Linked DNA regions of Homo sapiens: all the other regions are linked to region 1. The links are contacts of gene promoters, found by promoter capture Hi-C in blood cells and fetal thymus (Javierre and others, 2016). All regions are on one chromosome and are shown on one strand. Each heading gives the region's core, a stretch centred on a gene start or on the middle of the fragment in contact. The rest is flanking DNA. Distances are from core to core; before and after follow the strand shown. Region 1 holds the start of PLCZ1 (phospholipase C zeta 1). Region 2 overlaps PLEKHA5 (pleckstrin homology domain containing A5). Region 3 overlaps PLEKHA5 (pleckstrin homology domain containing A5). Region 4 overlaps PLEKHA5 (pleckstrin homology domain containing A5). Region 5 has its middle 16 kb from the start of PLEKHA5.

Region 1 (2,700 bases), core at 139-2,638:
TAACAAATGTCTTGGTCTTTATGATGGTCACCACCATGAAACACAGTTACTTTACACTTTCTTGCCTTGTTCATAAATATTCCCCAAGTAAAATTACTTGCTACACTTTTCCCATTTAAATTTGCATTGGCTAAGTGAGAGACATCTCTACAGATTGCTCAATTTTAGGAAAATAACCATTCCCAAGAAACACAAACAAGTCAAATCAAGATAGTTACCAGGAGCAATTCTTTATATTATCCAGTTGCACAACACACTTCTTGAATAAATGACATATCCTAATTTAGGATACATCACCAGATTCAAGTCAGAGAGTATCCTGTGCCAGTCAATAAGAGTGCGGGTCACTGGAAGATCCCTTCGTAGAATTTTTCTCAGGGCTTCATTGGATAACTCCTGTAATTCTTCCAAGACTGCAGCTTGAAATTTGTTCTCTTGCTCTTCCACAAGCCTTGCAAAACTTAGAGCCAGTTGAGCTTGGTTAACTATTTCCAAGCTTTCTTTCAGGTCCTTGGATATTTCAATATGAAGGTTGACACACCTGAAGAAGTGAGCTTGCACAAATATTCTTCCCGTTACTTGGGTTAGAAATGGGTTAACTTGGAAAATCCATTTAGATTTCCAAAGTCCGTTCCAGCACTCTCCTGTTTCATAGTTGTGATCTTCAATGCAAGCTATCAAGTACTCCTTACTTTTGACAGTTTTTCTCAGCATGTTGCAATTTCCTTTTGGATAGTGGTCATTCACATACAGTTTTAAGGCGCACAGAAGAACAACTCTCAGGTATTCTGCCTCATTCTGAATGATACCATGACTTTGGATGTCTTTCAGCTGATTTTGAAGCAGGTCATATTTGAAAGAAAGTTTGCTTTGATGGTCAAAAAATCGGTAGTCGCCCATTACATTGTGGTGAGACAAGAGTACTGGATTTCCATCGATGCAGAGTGGTACAGAATATTTTTGGCAGTGTTGGTGGCCTGCACACTCACCTTGGTGGTGCATAAGTTTTTCATCACGGATAAGCAGACAGAGATCATCAAAGGCATTTACAAATTCCCCTGGAGGGGCCTGTAATAACAGTCTGCGAATTACTCTTTCCTTGTCCTTCCTGCTCAGCACGCTAAGTGTCATGTTTGGTTGCAACAGAAGCAAAGCTTCTGAAATGAGGAGTGTTCAAAGGATAAGAAAACATTCCATGAGCCACCTTTCCCATCAAGGTGTTAACATTCAAGCTGAAGGTTTTTATGTCTATCCATGAAAGCAGGCAGTCTGGCAAGGTCTGAGCCTCCTGATGAGGTCATAAGAAGCTTTCCTTGTGAAGTGTGGAACCTCTGATGATATCACAATGGGAATTCAGACCAAAAGGAAAAAATGACAGTCACCTGACAGTGTGGTGCCCAGCCAACCAGCTATACCTCTTTTGAAGATTTTAAGAACTTAGCCTCCTGAACAGTCTTCTTCGAAAGTGGTGTGTCTCTGTGTGCATTATATGTTGTCAACGATCTAGAGAAGCAGCCCAAAGTTTCAAGAGTGACAGCACTTTGCAACTTCAGGAATCACAATGGTGTTGATTTATACTCAGGCTCTCAGAGTAGCTGCCCAAACCCACTGGAAGCATATTATGATGAAAGGTTTGAGGGGTTTAAACAAAGTAGTAAAAAATAAAAGGAGATACAATGGCAGTTCATGGAAAAATGCCAGACATCAGGGAAAGCTGTGTTTTCAAATATTGTGGGTTTGGAGGTGGTCAGAACGTAAGAAGCCAAACAGTTTCAAGGGCAGGGTAGTGCAGGTACCACATCTTGCATACTGTTTCTATGGTTAAGTGTGAGCTAGCTTCAAAGAACGAAGGCAAAAAAAACCACTGTGTGTTCTCTGCTTTCTCCCTAGAAAAGTGGTAACAGCTGATGAGTATCAAGAAATTATTTTCTGCAAAGGGGCAGAGTTAATTGTATTTGGAACCCATGACAGCACCTACTGGGGAAAGACTTCTAAGTGAGGAGAAACGGCTCTACAGGTCATGAAACTATGGAAATGAGATATCCATTGAGAGCTTCTTTCTGCTCCTCTTCTTCTTTCTCCTACTTATCCTCTTTACTTGATGCTGTTATTCTTTTCGAGGAGTTCTGAATTTAAGTCCTCTTCATTTAAGTTGAACTGCTTTTCCCTGTTTGTTCTGAGCTTTTCTAACTTTCCCTGCATTCTGGTATCTTTTTCTTACAAGAACATGAGCTTTGCTGGATTAAGTCATAACTATTAAATTTAAGGAGATCTCATTAATTCGTTCTAACAATCTGAAACTTAGTAGTTTTGCACAATTTTTACCTATACCTTTTATAATTTTAGTGATAATTGTCATTATCTCATTTCGATCTTAGTTTTTCAAATGGAAGTGTCCTAGTTTTTGTAGTTTATCTATGATAAGTAAGCTTTTAAAAATTTTTTTCGTTTTTCATACCAAATATACACTCACCATGGTATTTCTGATGCTTTTTGATGGTACTGTCTTGAGTGTGTGTGTAGCTGGGCATTGGACTAATGTAGTAATAATAACTTTATCAGTCATGGTTACTATTTATTGAACACTAAGTAGCAGAAACTGTGTTCGGTGGCATATTAGGAATTCATCTAATGCTTCCACTTTCCTTAAGATTCAGGGTTAATTTGCTCACCTTTCTGGAAGAGAGAACTAAAACAGAG
Region 2 (2,700 bases), core at 54-2,553, 440 kb before region 1:
GTGTATAAACAACATTTCAATGGCCATCCTTAAAAACAATATGCAAGTTCAACTCAATATCAATACTGTACTATTAAATTTGCAGGATAAATCTCCAGGTATAGAACTGATGAATGAGCATTTTATATTTGACTATTTTCACAGTTTACACTCGATCAGTAGTAAAAGAGAGTTAACTATTTCCCTCTGCCTTCACTAACATAGGGATATTCCCACATTGAAATCTTTGCCAATTTGATACAGGAATAAGATACCTCATTCCAGCTGTCTTCTAAAAAATTGGCCATTTATGTTTCTTTTTGTCTGACTTTCACTGTTCCCATTTTTTATTCACATTTCTTATTAGCTTGATCATTATTTTCTTAATGGGAATCAACTATGTTAAAATGCTACATATGCAAATAAAATTTCTCTCACTACAAAACAATTTTGAAGACTGGCTGTAGTTTCCCTGTGTTGTATGAACTGCTTGTTTAGATTCTTGAACTTATTCATCTAAATCCAACAGAGATGACTGCATGGAGATTTATGTTTACATACATAAATCTATTGTACAGATAAAAATACAACCAAGTGGCCCTCTAGTATGGAAGAGGCTAACAAAGACACAGCATCATGTAAATAATAAAAGGCTTAGGGTAAATCTAATTCTGGTCTCGGCTCTGCTACAATAAGCTGAATAACCTAGGTGTCACCTTAGCCCTCAAAGTATCAGCTCATCGGTCAGTAAAATGAAAAAGTTGGGCAGAACGGTCCCTACGCCTGCTTCCAAGTGTAAATCCCACGCCTCTAAGAGCTCGCAATGTTTTTCTTAGAGCATGAAACACCTATAGGACAAAATGAAATAACTGGTTATTATGAAGTAAAAAACAAATAACATTTAAGTATATGTTAAAAATAAAACTCAAATCATATTATAACAAGATTAGCAACATGATACTACCCATGTTTGCTTTTTTAAGTTCTCAGAATATTAGAAACTTGGGGAAATATACACATAGAGCGAATATATTCAAAGAATTAACACCTCCAGTGCGATTTTCTGATAATCATTTTAAGAGCAGTTTAGCAGGAAGAACAACAAAAAACGAAACCTATTTAAGAGCCCACTGCTCTTAAAAGCTCCTTGTTGCCAGAATAGTACCATGCCCCTTACAGGCATTTACATTGTTTTAATTTTTCAATCCTTGTATTAAAGAAATATCTTAAAATAAAATTAGATTTGTAGTTGGGTTTTCATGGTTCTACTCATGATATTATTAAAAACAAATCACTTTTCTCCCATCTGAAGAATTATTTCTGTGCTGTGATGCCTACGCTTATTCATTTTATAGTTTTAAAAATGTATTTAAGAAAGAATTGTCTCAAACACAAATTATGTAGGTGGAAAATCATTTCTATAGCAACAGTAGCTTCAGTCTATGAGTCCTGAAAGGTAAAAACCTCCTAATTCCAATACTTAAAACCTAATGTTTGATTTTTGATGGTGGCTCCTAATTTTTTATCACTACTAACATGAACTATCTAGACCACTATCATCCGCATGAGACCTGGCCAAATTCAAAAAGTATAAAAATACATGATGCCTTTTTAAATGATAAAGTTAATTACAAGAAATCAAACATGACACCTTAAGCTATCCCCTAGGCTGTATTCCTCTTCTTTGTCCTGTTCCCTGGAGCCAAAGGGATTCGTGGGATAATGACAGCTTCAAATAGTGAGTGATTTGAGAATCTTTGAGGTCTTACTGCTAATAAAAAGTATTAGTACCATGTCATTACTGTTACCTGGGGGAAAAAAGTAAAAAGCACTGCTCCCAGCTAGCACTGGTTTCGTCCCCACACTCAACTGTGTCTGGCTCCGATAATGGAGCACATTTTTTTTTTTGGAGAATCCTTTCTTTACTATTCTGATGGGCAGAGATTGAAAACTGGCAATAAAAAGAAATTAAAGCTGTACTTTTTCATAAACAGATGGCAAAATTTTATGTGTATGGGTGTATGCATACAAGAAAGGGAAATCAAGGGCCGGGCGCGGTGGCTCACGCCTGTAATCCCAGCACTTTGGGAGGCCGAGGCGGGTGGATCATGAGGTCAGGAGATCGAGACCATCCTGGCTAACAAGGTGAAACCCCGTCTCTACTAAAAATACAAAAAATTAGCCGGGCGCGGTGGCGGGCGCCTGTAGTCCCAGCTACTCGGGAGGCTGAGGCAGGAGAATGGCGTGAACCCAGGAAGTGGAGCTTGCAGTGAGCCGAGATTGCGCCACTGCAGTCCGCAGTCCGGCCTGGGCGACAGAGCGAGACTCCGTCTCAAAAAAAAAAAAAAAAAAAAAAAAAAAAAGAAAGGGAAATCAGTAGCAATTTTCTTTAAAAAAAAAAAAACAACTTTTTTCCCATTCTATTGCTCAGATGCAAAACATACCCGAGACACGAGGAGAATGATCACCACCACTACTTTAACACCCCAAAAGCACAGGACACACTGAATATGGTGGAGCAATAAATACAGTGTTCATGAAATTCTGTGTTATTTTCCTGGCTCTGCCATTTTCTAGCCATGTGACTGTAGCCAATTTGATTTATCTGTGCTTCAGGTGTATCATCTGAAAATAAGAATAATGATGGTGCTCTCTTAAGGGTTACTGCAAAGATCCAATGAGTTCGTATATATAAGAGAACTGTGCCTGGTAAATGATAAG
Region 3 (2,700 bases), core at 185-2,684, 450 kb before region 1:
TGCAAGAATGGCCTAATACAGGGACTCAGAGGGATGGGAGGGTAGGAGAAGGGTGGATGATAGGAGGTTGCTTCGTAGGTACGATGTGCTGGGAGGCTCTCTGGTAGGTACAACGTGCATTGCTCCAGTGATAGATGCACACTGAAGGCCCTGATTTTACCACAATGCAATATATATCAATGTAGTAAAACTGCACTTGTACCCTATGATTATATACAAATTAAAAAAATCAAAACTCTAAATCAGAATAAACGTCCAAGTATAAAATTCATATCTAACTTTCCATTTGAAGTAAGAAATTGATTAAAAATTTAAACTGCCTTCTCACAAGAACCTAATTTAACCAACATTATTTGCTTTTAAAATATTGGCTTCATGTGTTCCCAACATGGGGTCTACTGAAAGCTCATAAATTATCTTAATAAACAAAGTCTTACCTAATGAAGCATCATTCTTGTGAATCTTACTATATTCTGCCCCTCTTCTAAGTATTAAGACTTTCCTTCTTAAAAAATCAAAACCACATTAACATTGCACCCTCTTATGTTTAAAGTTGACTCACATGCTACTGTCCTTGGATTTATGCACCTCATAAACACTCCAAAACCTAATCTACAATGTAAAAGTCTAAAATCTGAAACAGGGGTCAACAAATTTATTCTGTACAGGACCAGATAGTAAATATTTCAGGCCTTGTGGACCCAACAGTCTGTCAAAACTATCAACTTTGCTATAGTGAGAAAGTAGCCATAGACATTACATAAATGAGTATGGCTGCATTCCAACAAAGCTTTATTTACAAAAACAGGCAGCAGGCTGGATTTGGTCCACAGCCACAGTTACTAACCCCTAATCGAAAGTATTAGTTAAGTAGAATGTCTATGATAGTCTCATCACTCCTTAAAAGCTTAGTACCACATGCCTCTGATCAATTATTTACTAGATCAATTTCACTTATTAATGATTAGGTTTACTAATTTTAGTAAGAATAAATTCTTTTCTTTTTTATTTTTTGAGACATAGGGTCTGACTCTGTGGCCCACGCTGCACTGCAGAGGTGCCATCTGGGCTCAATGAAACCGCTTCCACCTCCCAGGTTCAAGCAATTCTCCTGCCTCAGCCACCCGAGTGGCTGGGACTAGAGGCGAATGCCACCACGCCCGGCTAAATTTTTTTTGTATTTTGAGTAGAGACGGGGTTTCAACCATGTTGGCCAGGCTGGTCTTGAACTCCTGACTTCAAGTGATCTGCCCGCCTCGGCCTCCCAAAGTGCTGGGATTATAGGTGTGAGCCACTGTGCCAGGCCAAGAGTAAATTATTTTCTATTCTTATAATTTCATTAGGGTTCTCCTTAATATTTAATTTTTCATAATTCCACATTTCATTAACTAAAGTGAACTTAATCAGTCTTTCCTCATGAATCTCATTTTCTAAAATTTGTCCTTTTTACACCTTTGACTTCTCTCCAAGTTTCCTATGAAAAGTAGAAATGTCAGCACTTCTCTGTAATTAACTGCTTTTATAAAATTGAAAAATAAAGCAAGCATTTACATGTTTACTTTTTCCTTCATTAAAATTAAAAATAAAAATACTAAAATTTTTTTTAAATTCAAGTCAATTGTTAATAAAGATATCCTTTTAAAGTATGGTAGCAAGCCTCTAAGATGACCCTCAGTGATCCCCAGCCTATACACGGACTATACAAGGGTATACACACCTTTGTATAGTCCCCTCCTGCAATGAATCAAGGCTGGCCTTTTTCACCAATAAAATATGACAAAAGTGACACCCAAAGCTAAGTCATAATGGCAGTGCGGCTTCTACCTTACTCTCTTAGGCTTGGTCACTATGGACAAAGCCAACCACCATGTCATGGGTCACGCAGCCTTATGCAGAGAAACCAACTACCCACCATCAACTTGCCAGACACGTGATCCTCCAGCATGAGCTTTCAAGCTTGCAGAGACTAAAGCCTTAAGCTCATAAGGCTCATCCAACCTCGTAAGAGAACCTGAGCCAGAACTACCCAACCAAGCAGCTTGAGAATTCCTGACTCACAGGAACAGGGAATGTTAATAAATGATTATTGCATTATGTTTAGAGGTGATTTGAGAAAACAGCTGATATACCTGTATCTAATTAGGTTACAACGTATCTTATTTTGTATAACTGAATATTTTGGTTCTTGGCAGCAGCAGTTGAAAAACAATCATCTGTACTGCAATAAGATGAGTTTAGGGGACAAGACTGACAACAACAACAACCAATTAGGCCGCATGGTAGTGATGGATGCTAGGCTGTTCATTCAACAACACTCAACATTAACTCAAAGCATTCAGTGTGGGAAGCTGTGTGTCAGGGTATTAAAGTATTAACAGTTTGATTTCTACATACTGGTCTATGACCCACAGTTACATGCAAGAAATAATCCCTACTTCACTCCCATTCTTGCCCATGTAAATCTCACTGTTTCACAGGGCACTGTGTTTTTAAATCTTGGTCTGACCCATTAGTAGATAATGAAATGCAGTTAACAGGATGTTTGCTACCAGTACTTTAAAATAACAAAACAGAAGAGAAGGTATAGGTGGTAAAGGGAAGAAAGTATTTTCATTTTAGTATTATATAAAGTGGACAGTGGGTCATCCAATAATATTTATTTCTTATTGCGAGTCATGGTCAAAAAAAATTAAAATAAAT
Region 4 (2,700 bases), core at 178-2,677, 410 kb before region 1:
AAAAAAAAAAACAAAAAACCTGTGTTAATTTACAGAAGACTGACATAATTTTATTAAAATTAAGAACTCTGTTCGTCAAAAGATCTCTTGGAATGTGAAGGTAAGCTACAATGTAGGAGAGTAAATTTGCCACACATATTATGGATAAAAGATTATAATAAAGAAATTCCCAAAATCAAATGCATGTACTTTACAACTTCAATTACACTCCTATTTACAGATCCTAGAGAAGCTCTTTGACATAAAAAAAATGTTCTTATTTTAAGCTGAGTATCATGTGCAGTGCTTATTCATCTTATTTTCCCTTATGTCTGACAAATGTTATATTCATTTGGCATTTAATTAAATTGTCATAATTAAAGAAATAAAACATACTCAAAGATTTTAATTATTACCATCATATATAAGTAGTATATAAAAAATATCATTGGACCCCAAGTTCGTACTACTGCTACCTGCATAAAACAAACTGACCTGCATTGCATGGGCAATTTATATTATACAGATTATTTTAACCTGCCTTGCTCTTTTCAAAGAAACAAATCTGACGAAAGACTAAAGACAAGAAAGTAATTGCTATTAATTATTCTTCATGTACAGTCTCTATCTATGAGCCTAGAGTCAAAAGCTTTTCCTAAATTATTTCCAGGTGTTTCTGAGAATTTGTAAAATCTTCCACTGTTGTCCTGCTTACTTTGTTGCCTATTAGGCAACTTTGTGGTTTAAAGATTATGAAGTTTTGGTCTGGTTCATCACACAGTTTGAACTTTCAAAATGACTAACAGCAAAAAAGATTAAATATTTACATTAAAATATCTACTGCTAATACCAATGTAAAAAAAATGTGGCCGGGCGCGGTGGCTCACGCCTGTAATCCCAGCACTTTGGGAGGCCAAGGAGGGTGGATCACGACGTCAGGAGATCGAGACCATCCTGGCTAACATGCTGAAACCCTGTCTCTACTAAAAGTACAAAAAATTAGCCGGGCGTGGTGGCAGGCGCCTGTAGTCCCAGCTACTCGGGAGGCTGAGGCAGGAGAATGGCATGAACTCTGGAGGTGGAGCTTGCAGTGAGCCGAGATCGTGTCACTACACTCCAGCCTGGGTGACAGTGCAAGACCCTGTCTCAAAAAAAAAAAAAAAAAAAAGTATGACCAAAAAATAGAAAATGCTAACCTGAAAATCTTGATCCTTGAATTTTTTTTTTAAGTCCAGGTTCCAGGCTTAGATCTTTGAATTTTACACTTGACAACAGTATTACTTAAATTAAATCACTGTCCTTTAGTATTTGCATATATCATTAATGTTTTCCATCTCTAAAGAGTTTACATTTGGAAAATGTCATTTCTAATAAAAAAATACTTAAAATATTCTGAAAAACCATAGTGAAAATATGGAAGCTGCTAATGACTATGTATCTGCTTAGTATGTAAGCTATTAAGAGTTCACAATCTACCTACCCAAATACCCTTTAAGGAGCACAGGCAGAACCCACAAATTCCTGGGCTGACCACCACTCTTGGCCAAATGAGTCACGGCCTCTGTAAGTCCCAGGGTCACCTTTCTCTAGGAGTCTACTGAAACTAAATTCAGCAAACCTCTCAATGCCCAAATTAACTTTATCTCCAATTCCTCTCTCAATCCATCTACTGACCTGGCATTAACCCTACAAGGCTTTGTTTTTTCCATCCCTGACCTAGTCTACAGTCCACCTTCTATCTTACAAATTTAACTACCTATGGAAATGGTGCTCCATAATTAGCAAACTCCTCTATACCCTCAACCTCTTTTCAAAGCATTACCTCAGTACCTTGGCTGTTAAGGACTTTCTCCCATCAGCTGTCCTACTGCATTCTCTCAAAGAACAGATATTTATTCCCCATTCCCCCAAGGTCCTTCAACTACCTGAGCCATCCATTCTCTTAATCCCAGAACCTTGTCATACCCATAACCTGGCACATCTAAAATCATGACTTCAATGATCACACTGCAACACCAAATCTCCAACCTTGCAGTATACATGTTTAACTACTTCCCTGTGGGAGTTCTCTGGTCTTGGAAGAATCTCTATCCCAATCTATCAGATCACTTTTTGCTCTACTTCCCTCCTTCCCAGCCTGAAGTCTAACAGTTCAACATTTCAACAAATCTATCATACCCTAACTCTCCTGCTCATCTGTCTTTCACTGGATTAATCTAGAAAAACCCTTTGTGGCTTCAAGCTTTCATTCTCCTTGAGCTCCTACTGACCACGGCCCTCCCTCAAGATTCCATAAATACCCAACAAGTGTCTGCAATGCACCAGTGACATAGCATTTAAACACACTGTATTTTAACAAACTGCTGACTTGTTTATTACAAAATATTTATTACAAATGTTCAACAGATATTTATTGAGCATTTCCTAAGAACAGAAAGGCACTATTCTTAACTGTGAGAATTTAGCAGCAAAGAGGGTCAGAGGAGGTCCCCACTCTTGTGAGGCTCATATCACAAGGCAGAAAAAGAAAACACGTAAGTGAATAAGAATTTTAACCAGTGATAAGTGCCACAGGGAAAACAAAACAGGGTAACATGACAGCAAGTGCTTGGTCAGTGGGTTTTGGGTGTGGGCAGAACAGGGGAGGTCATCTACTTGAAAGACTTCTCAGAAGCACACTGAGACCTAAGATACCTTCCTCCATCCCCCAAAACAGAATCA
Region 5 (2,700 bases), core at 89-2,588, 380 kb before region 1:
ATTATTTGCCCTTAGTGATACAACAGCTTAGCAGCAGAGCCAGCCTCCTGATTCCTTGTTTAGTTTTCCTTTTTTTTCCTCTGCATTCTATTATTTCCCCGTATCCACTTCATGTTTAGCTTAGAAGAATGTTTATTATTCATTCATTCTCTTTAATAAATATTTCTTGAACACGGACTATGTGGCAGACACTATTAGCAATTAGGGAAACAGTTATAAGACACAATTCCTTAAGTACTGGGTGTAGAAAAAGAACTTGAGGGGGAAATATACCCATTTCTATAGAGGTTGTAGGGAAGGTGGAACTCTCATATACTACTAATGGGAGTTAAAATAGATATTAATTTTCTGGAAGGCAACTTGACCATATGAGACAAATGTCTAAAAATGTGTATACCCATTGGCCCAGAAATAATGCTTCCTGGAGTTCATCCTAAGGAAATAATAAGAGATGTGGGCAAAGTGATATGTGAAGAGTTATTCACCATAGTGCTTTTTTTCCCTTATAAATGCCCAGGAATTTGGGTTTTATTGGGCATATTTTGGTATAACTAGGCTATTAAACAATGCATGCCATTAAAAGTGTGGTTTTAGAAGACCACAAACCTGGGAAAATGTTCATAATGTATAAATGGTGAAAAAGAAAGGCTTAAAGTAATATGGATAACACGATACCTATTTTGGGGGGCAGGTTAGAAAATATGTTTGTAACGAGGAAAGCAGAGGAGGACATACATCCAACTGTAAGCAGTGATAATTATTATTATTGTTTTTGAGATGGAGTCGTGCTTTGTCACCCAGGCTGGAGTGCAGTGGTATGATCTTGGCTCACTGCAACCTCTGCCTCCCGGGTTCAAGCGATTCCTCTGCCTCAGCCTCCCAAGTAGCTGGGACTACAGGTGCATGCCACCACACCCGGCTAATTTTTGTATTTTTAGTAGAGACGAGGTTTTGCCATGTTGGCCAGGCTGGTCTTGAACTCCTGTCCTCAAGTGATCCAGCTGTCTTGGCCTCCTAAAGTGCTGGGATTACAGGCATGAGCCACCACATCTGGCCAGTGATTAGCTTCTTGTAATAGTCTTTCTCTTTGTACTTACTTGTATTTTCCAATATTTCCTTACTGAGCATATTTTCTTTTTATAATAAAAAATTTTAAGCTCTATCTGTATCAAACTATGAAAATCTGTGTTGTCTCAAATGTCTAGAGAGGAAGGCCAGCAATTCTACATTTCACCATTGGAAAAAATTAAAGCTTAAGTTTCACACGTAAAAGCTCATGGTAGACTTAACTAAATATCTATCATGAACAAATGAATTAAAATATTCCCCATATAGTGGAAAGAATCCTTACCAGTCATATATCTAATCTTCCAACTAAAGTATAATTTGGATCTATAATATACTTGATAAGTGATCTAAGCTTACTGGATTTAGAGACAGATTTTTTTATTCATGAAAAAGCTGGATCTTAGCTAAATTATAACCAATAGAAGCCAATCTGGAATCACAGCACCAATATTTGGTAACTACACTGGTCATTTAGGTGTAATTGTGCATGGTAAAGGCAAGAGTGGGTTTTAGTGAATAGATGCTCTTTGAAAAATCATTCTCAAATTGAAAAATTGACTTTTGGCCACTGTATTTGCTCTTTACTATGTCTAGTGTCATCATTCACCAGAGACTTTATTTTTCTATTATTTAATTAAGTTAATGAATTTATTTTACTTCAGACAGCGTCTCACTCTGTCACCCAGGCTAGAGTATGGTGATGCAATCACAGCTCACTATGGCCTCAAATCTCCTGGGCTCAGGTGATCTGCCTTTGCCTCCTGAGTAGCGGGGACTATAGTTGCATCCCTCCACATCTGGTTAATTTTATTTGTAAAGATGGGATCTCATTTTTTTGCCCAGGCTGTTCTCAAACTCCTGGGCCCAAGCGATCCCCCTCTCCTCAGCCTCCCAAAGTGCTGGGATTACAGGCGTGAGCCACCATGCCTAGCCAAGAATCTATTTTGAAATGCATGGTGACATAGTTTGGATGTGTGTCCCCTCCAAATCTCATGTTGAAATGTGATCCCCTAGTGACAGATGCTTGGGCTGATTCCTCATGAATGACTTGGTGTCATCCCCTTTGTAATGAGGGAATTCTTACTCTATTTGTTTATGTGAGACCTGGTTGTTTTAAAGAGGCTGGCATCTCTCTTTCTGCTCCCTTTCTTGCCATGTGACACACCTGCTCCTCTTCCACTTTTCACTATAAGTCAAAGCTTCCTGAGGCCTCACCAGAAGCCAAGTGGATGCTGGTGCCATTTTTGTGCAGCCCGAAGAACTGTAAGCCAAATAAACCTCTCTTCTTTATTACCCAGGCTCCGTTGTTCCTTTACAGCAACAGAAAATGAACTAACAAACATGGATAGGAACGTTATTAAGACTTCTTGCAGAGCACTTTTTATAAGTTCTTATTTAACAAATCCTATCCATAAAAATACCTAGGACAATAGATCCATTCAGAACCTCACTCAGTAACTTATCTTTACATTTGTAATTGTATAGATAAAAATATTTTTATAATCATCACATTTTGTGAAGTAAAAAGACAACTTTCAAAAATTAATATGAAGTTAAAGAAGCCAGATACACACACACACACACACACACACACACACACACACTGGTAGTCTGGTGCTATTTTAATCTCAA

What was found. The method cuts DNA at HindIII sites, captures the fragments that hold promoters and counts their contacts. A CHiCAGO score of 5 or more calls a contact.
Region 2: a contact is called between a fragment that was not itself captured here and the fragment with the promoter of PLCZ1 in region 1, in 1 of 17 cell types (megakaryocytes). The highest score is 7.0, in megakaryocytes.
Region 3: a fragment that was not itself captured here is called in contact with the fragment with the promoter of PLCZ1 in region 1 in 1 of 17 cell types (megakaryocytes); the score reaches 6.2 in megakaryocytes.
Region 4: a contact is called between a fragment that was not itself captured here and the fragment with the promoter of PLCZ1 in region 1, in 1 of 17 cell types (megakaryocytes). The highest score is 5.5, in megakaryocytes.
Region 5: a fragment that was not itself captured here is called in contact with the fragment with the promoter of PLCZ1 in region 1 in 1 of 17 cell types (megakaryocytes); the score reaches 5.8 in megakaryocytes.

The regions. Positions count from the first base shown.
Region 1 is chr12:18,736,700-18,739,399 of GRCh38, reverse strand. It overlaps PLCZ1 (phospholipase C zeta 1), which reads left to right and starts at 1,388. Exons shown (of 15, transcript NM_033123.4): 1 at 1,388-1,468; 2 at 1,891-2,039. The coding sequence starts at 2,029. It overlaps CAPZA3 (capping actin protein of muscle Z-line subunit alpha 3), which reads right to left and starts at 1,281. Exons shown (of 1, transcript NM_033328.3): 1 at 212-1,281. The coding sequence starts at 1,131. The coding sequence ends at 232. The HindIII fragment of the contact is 1,122 bases long and covers 1,310-2,431 here.
Region 2 is chr12:19,172,648-19,175,347 of GRCh38, reverse strand. The region is part of intron 3 of PLEKHA5 (pleckstrin homology domain containing A5); the gene reads right to left. Among named protein-coding and RNA genes, the nearest start is that of PLEKHA5, 44 kb to the right of the region's middle. The HindIII fragment of the contact is 5,251 bases long and covers 1-2,700 here.
Region 3 is chr12:19,191,022-19,193,721 of GRCh38, reverse strand. All of the region lies in intron 3 of PLEKHA5 (pleckstrin homology domain containing A5), which reads right to left. Among named protein-coding and RNA genes, the nearest start is that of PLEKHA5, 63 kb to the right of the region's middle. The HindIII fragment of the contact is 1,049 bases long and covers 910-1,958 here.
Region 4 is chr12:19,150,312-19,153,011 of GRCh38, reverse strand. The region is part of intron 3 of PLEKHA5 (pleckstrin homology domain containing A5); the gene reads right to left. Among named protein-coding and RNA genes, the nearest start is that of PLEKHA5, 22 kb to the right of the region's middle. The HindIII fragment of the contact is 1,593 bases long and covers 631-2,223 here.
Region 5 is chr12:19,112,742-19,115,441 of GRCh38, reverse strand. No RefSeq gene overlaps it. Among named protein-coding and RNA genes, the nearest start is that of PLEKHA5, 16 kb to the left of the region's middle. The HindIII fragment of the contact is 168 bases long and covers 1,255-1,422 here.